Linked DNA regions of Homo sapiens: region 1 is linked to region 2. Evidence: promoter capture Hi-C in 16 types of primary human blood cells and fetal thymus (Javierre and others, 2016). All regions are on one chromosome and are shown on one strand. The core of a region is centred on a gene start or on the middle of the fragment in contact, and the rest is flanking DNA. Distances in the headings are between cores, read along the strand shown.

Region 1 (2,964 bases), core at 230-2,729, 610 kb after region 2:
AGGCACTGTGGTAGGTAGTTGTGTTAGCCTTACAAACCAGCAAGTTAGGTAATGTTACCCCATTTTACAGGTCAGAAATTGATGCTGAGTACAGTGAAGTTTTACAAAACCATTGCCATATGACTGCTGAGCAGTATAGCTGGGATCTGAACAGAGATCTGTTTGACTTCCAGAACACATCCAGTGATTCTCCAAGTGTGGTCCTAAGCTCACTCGTTCAGCATCATCTAGCGTGTGGAGTCCTGGATCTCATCCTTGGATTTGCAGGGATGGTCCTAAGAAGCTAACGGCTCTCTGTATTTGACAATTATTGTACTGTAATGTGCTGCCTCCTAGGGGAAGATCTAGAGGTGAACATACTCTGGGCTAGGGGTAATTTTTGAGGGAAAAAAATCACTTTTTTTTAATTTCTGATTTGACTTTTTTTTTTTTTGAGACCAGGTCTTACTCTGTCATCCGGGCTAGGAGTGCAGGGGCGCGATCTAGGCTCACTGCAGCATTGACCTCGTGGGTTCAAGCAAACCTTCCACCTCAGCTTCCTGAGTAGCTGGAACCACAGGTGCACGCTGCCATACCTGGCTAGTTTTTGTAGTTTTTGTAGAGATGGTGTTTCACCATGTTGCCCAGTCAGGTTTCAAACTCCTGAGCTCAAGCAATCCTCCTGCCTTGGCCTTCCAAAGTGCTGGGATTACAGGCATGAGCCACTGTGCCCTGCCCACACTTTTATTTTTTATTTTCCCCCATGATTGACAGAAGGATAATCACGCTTTTAGTGAATGTAAACCCCCAGGCAGATGCTTGCCAAGCTTAATTTCTTGACATAAGCTTGGTTTTGGCATGTGGGGGCGGAAGAGTGGGGTTGGAGAGTTAAGTGAGAATGGGGAAAGTAACTCCTTTTTCCTTATCATATAGCTGTTAAATTCTAATTCACTCAACAGATACTTGCTAAGCATTTATTAGGTGCAAGACATGTTCAAGACACTGAGAATACAGCTTTGAACAAAACAGAGCAAGTCAGTGCCCTCATGTGAAAGACAATTAACAATGTGTGGTATGGAATGGTGAGAAGAGCTATGGAGAAAAATAAAGGGCATAGGAGTGCAAGGCAGGGCTGGGCCCAGGAGGAAGACATGGAAATGGCAGCAATGGCAGTGGTGCTATATTTATTTATTTATTTATTTATTTATTTATTTATTTATTTTTTGAGATGGAGTTTCACTCTTGTTGCCCAGGCTGGAGTGCGGTGGCGCCATCTTGGCTCACTGCAATCTCTGCCTCCTGGGTTCAAGTGATTCTCCTTTGTCAGCCTCCCAAGTAGCTGGGATTACAGGCACATGCCACCACGCCTGGCTAATTTTTTTTTTTTTCTTTTTTTGAGACAGAGTCTCACTTTGTCTCCAGGCCGGAGTGCAGTGGCGTGATCTTGGCTCACTGCAACCTCTGCCTCCCAGGTTCAGGTGATTCTCCTGCCTCAGCCTCCTGAGTAGCTGGGACCACAGGCATGTGCCACCACGTCCGGCTAATCTTTTTATTTTTAGTAGAGACGGGGTTTCACCATGTTGGCCAGGATGGTCTCAATTTCATGACCTCGTGATCCGCCTGCCTCCGCCTCCCAAAGTACTGGGATTACAAGCGTGAGCCACCGCGCCTGGCCTAATTTTTTGTATTTTTTAGTAGAGAGGGGGTTTCACCATGTTGGCCAGGCTGGTCTCGAACTCCTGGCCTCAGGTGATCCACCTGCCTTGGCCCCCCAAAGTGCTAGGATTACAGGCATGAGCCCCTGCACCCGGCCTGCTATTTTGCATATTTGTTTAACTTTTTTTTTTTTTTTTTTTTTTTTGTGGAGACAAGATCTTGCTATGTTACCCAGGCTGGTCTCGAACTCCTGGCCTCAAAGTGATCTTCCTGCCTTGGCCTCTCAAAGCGCTGGGATTACAGACATGAACCACTGTGCCTGGCCTCTGTTTTATATATTGTATCTAGGAAGGGACCGATTTATATAAGGTGTCATTTGAGGTTGGGCAATGAGCAAAGGCCCCAAGGGCAAAGGCTGCTTGATATTTTCATGGACTGGTGATTGGAACACTAGTGCATAGGAGGAAGCAAGACAGTGGCAGTTTTAGGCTCATGCATAGAAGCTTATACCAATGTTTTTAGACCATATTTGGTAGGAGATAGGGAGCCAGTGCAGATTTTTGGGGAGCATATCCAAATGGTTGACCTCATCTTGCTAATGAATGCTTCTTTTGAAGAAGAGGCATAGTGCTTTAAAAATGTAGGTTCAGGCTGGGCTCTTCCTTTGCTCATGCCTATAATCCCAGCAATTTGGGAGGCCGTGGCAGGCAGATCACTTGAGCTCAGGAGTTCAAGACCAGCCTGGACAACACGGCGAAAACCTGTCTCTACAAAAAATACAAAAAAATAGCTGGGCATGGTGGCGTGCACTTGTGATCCCAGCTACTCAGGATCGCTTGAGCCCAGGAGGTGGAGGTTGCAGTGAGCTGAGATCATGCCACTGCACTCCAGCCTGGGTAACAGAGTGAGACCCCATCTCAAAAATAAAAATAAAAAATAGCCAGGCGTGGTGGCTCACGCCTGTAATCCTAGCACTTTAGGAGGCCGAGGCGGGCGGATCACGAGGTCAGGAGCTCGAGACCATCCTGGCTAACACGGTGAAACTCTGTCTCTACTAAAAATACAAAAAATTAGCCAGGTGTGGTGGCGGGCACCTGTAGTCCCAGCTACTTGGGAGGCTTAGGCAGGAGAATGGCATGAACCCAGGAGGAGGAGCTTGCAGTGAGCCAAGATTGTGCCACTGCACTCCAGCCTGGGCAACAGAGTGAGACTCTGTCTCAAAAATAAAAAATTAAAAAAAAAATGTAGGTTCAATATTAGAGGAAACTGAGTGACCATTATACAGGAACTGTGTACTATTTTTACAGCTTTTCTGCAAGTCCACAGTTA
Region 2 (3,047 bases), core at 514-3,013:
AATCAGAATAAGTTCATAAGAGAATTTGGCACATAGTGGTCAATGAGTGCTTGTTTTAAAAACTGTTTAAGGGAGTATCTTGAACCTTTGGAAATGAACTTAAAAGGTGTTGCATCCTGACACAAACATTGCCAAAAAAAAAAGTTTAAGATTATGACAAATGCATGATTATTCATCTACCAGTTTACTAGTAGTAATCCAGTTTGGCCCAAGTAAATTAAGTCTCAGTGCTGAGTTAGAACCCCAGCTATAAGCTCTTTCACCATTCTCTGAATCACTTCAGTTTTTTGTTTTTGTTTTTGTTTGAGTCAGAGTCTCGCTCTGTCACCCACGGTGGAGTGCAGTGGTACAATCTCGGCTCACTGCAACATGTGCCTCCCAGGTTCAAGCGATTCTCCTGCCCCAGCCTCCCGAGTAGCTGGGATTACAGGCGCACACCACCAAGCCCAGCTAATTTTTGCATTTTAGCAGAGATGAGGTTTCACCATGATGGCCGAGCTGGTCTCGAACTCCTGACCTCAAGTGATCTGCCCACCTCGGCCTCCCAAACTGCTGGGATTACAGGCATGAGCCACTGTGCCCGGCCCAGTTTCTTATTTTAGCCATAATCTCACTGAGTAAATATGGATTTCATTTATTTTTATATATTTATTTATTTTTAAAGACAGGGACTCTTGTCACTCAGGCTGGAGTGCAGTGGCACAATCATAGAACACTGTAACCTCAAACTACCGGTCTCAAGCCTCCCACCTCTGCCTCCTGAATAGCTAGGACTACAGGTGTGCACCACCACTCCTGGCGAATTTTTTTTTTTTAAGAGACGGGGTCTCAGAGTCTCATTATGTTGCCCAGGCTGGTCTCAAACTGCTGGCCTAAGCGATCCTCCCGCCTGACCTTCCAAAATGCTGGGATTACAGGCTTGAGCCACCCCCAGCCTCCGGATTTTCTTTATTCTGAAACTCATCCCTAACTTTATTTTCTGCCAGAGGAAGTCTGTTTTTCACAGCGTGATAAACTAGCAAGTCTGAGCTGCTGCTCTTGTCTTCTTAGAGGATGAAAATGGGAGTTTATCCCTCCTTTTCTCCTTTCTGAAAAGAGAGTAGATGAAACCTTCCCCCGCCTTTTGGTTTTTAGGAAGCAGAAAGCAGAGATATTAACTATATAAAAACTGCAAACACATAAATAACAGCAGTATAGAAAGCATAGGGCTTGTGTCAGCATATGAATGAGGTAGCGTCTTACCACCCTGGCCGCATGCTTGGTCAGCAATTTCCAGCACTTGCAGACACTGCAAAAGGCTTCCCTTATCTCATAAGATGGTTACAACCACCTAGAAAGGTGGAGCAGGATTCTTCGTCTGTGTTATAATAGAGGAAACAGACACAGAGAAGATACAGAGCTAATAACGCAGAGGCTGGACATAACCGAGGTCTTCAAAGCTTCACTTTGGTCTGTTTCATCCCTCTGCCGCAGCTGGGCCCTGGTCCTGATGCTGAGGACCCGAAGCGGGCACACCTGCGCCGGGCAAGAATGAACCCAGCCAATGAGGAGCCCGCATGCGGGGGGCGGGGCGGAACGGGGAAGCTGCCAATGAGAGAGCCTACCCCGAGAGAGATGGAGCTAATGAGGGCCTCGTGCTGGAGAGGGACGGCGGCTTGGCCAATGCGGAGCTGGGTCTGGCGCGGCAGGAAGGCGGGACTGCCAGTGGGGCGCCGGGGCGGGGCGGAGAGCCGAGCGCCAACCCGCTAGCGCCTGAATCCGGCGTGCTGCCCGCTCGCCGCCCGCCATGGCCCGCGCAGCCCCGCTGCTCGCCGCGTTGACCGCGCTCCTCGCCGCCGCCGCTGCTGGCGGAGATGCCCCGCCGGGCAAAATCGGTGCGGGAAGGACGCGGTGGGGTTCCCAGCTGGGGAGGGCCGGCGGGTAAAGGGTTCTCAGTTCTCAGCTAGGTGGGGTATAGGAGGGCGGCTGGGTGAGGGAGGGGTCCTCGGAAAAGGAGCTGGGTGGAGGAGAGGCGCCGAAGGGGACGCGGCAGGGAAGGTCCTGATGGGGCCGGGGCATGGCATGTGAAGAGGGCCACCTAGGACGGAAAAGAGGCCTGGGCAGGACTGGCCGCGGATCTCACCGGGAGGTCCAGGGTCGCTGAGCATCTGCCATGGTCCTGGCTGTTGGCTAGGCGCCCGGGTGACAGAGGACAGAGAGGCTGGGCGATGGCATTCACAGAGGTTGGTTGAGGGCTCTCTGTGTAGCAGACGTGGTGCTGTAGTTCCTGCTGGGGTAGAGCCCTCACAGTACAGGGAAGTCCGTGCTGAGCTGAGGAAGTACGGTGCATGCAGAGGAGGGGCGCTTCACCCTGTCTTTGCGGCCCTGGGAGGGCTTCCTGGAAGTAACATCTAAGCCAAACCACCCCCAGGTCGATAGGAGACAGTCCTGGCAGAGACAGAACACTAGGTCCGCTGGAGATTTGCTGACAGAACGGGGAACTTTTAACAACAGTCTTTTTGTTTATTGTGTGTGTGGTTTCCCCAATACTTTATTTTGAAAATGTTCAGATGTACAGCAAGAATTTTATAGTGGTCATCTGTATACCCACCACCTACATTCTGCCATTAACTGCTGCTATACTTGCTGTGTCACATAACTATCACGCACTGTTCTAGACATCCACGAATCCAGCCTACATTTTGATGCATCTCCAAATAAATTGCAGACATCAGGACACCTCACTAAATACGTCATCGTGCATATCATTGACTAGAGTGTCATATGTGTTTACAGTTGCTTTTTTTTTTCCTCCCTCAACAACTGTCATTTTAACTACATGACTCGTGAAGATTTTCAAGTCCCTCACACGTGATATTCCCACAGGCAGAGATCCTGGGCTTCGGGGTGGGAGGACAAAGACTCTATTCCGCTAGGCCACTCTCCATGCACCCCAGTTGGCAGGAGTGCCTGGAACATCTGATAGAAGCATCACAAACTTACAGGGTCCAGTGCAGTGCTAAAGCTTCTTGTGTAGCAGAACCACAGCCCAGGCCATACAGGGTTAA

What was found. The method cuts DNA at HindIII sites, captures the fragments that hold promoters and counts their contacts. A CHiCAGO score of 5 or more calls a contact.
Region 1: a fragment that was not itself captured here is called in contact with the fragment with the promoter of PCYOX1L in region 2 in 1 of 17 cell types (activated CD4 T cells); the score reaches 7.7 in activated CD4 T cells.

What each region holds. Positions count from the first base shown.
Region 1 is chr5:149,961,923-149,964,886 of GRCh38, forward strand. The region is part of intron 1 of SLC26A2 (solute carrier family 26 member 2); the gene reads left to right. Among named protein-coding and RNA genes, the nearest start is that of SLC26A2, 2.6 kb to the left of the region's middle. The HindIII fragment of the contact is 1,313 bases long and covers 824-2,136 here.
Region 2 is chr5:149,356,283-149,359,329 of GRCh38, forward strand. It overlaps PCYOX1L (prenylcysteine oxidase 1 like), which reads left to right and starts at 1,764. Exons shown (of 6, transcript NM_024028.4): 1 at 1,764-1,874. The coding sequence starts at 1,787. It overlaps GRPEL2-AS1 (GRPEL2 antisense RNA 1), which reads right to left and starts at 1,360. Exons shown (of 2, transcript NR_132366.1): 1 at 1,243-1,360. RefSeq lists an enhancer at 1,524-1,818 and silencers at 1,544-1,593, 1,614-1,773, 1,794-2,003. The HindIII fragment of the contact is 1,565 bases long and covers 1,438-3,002 here.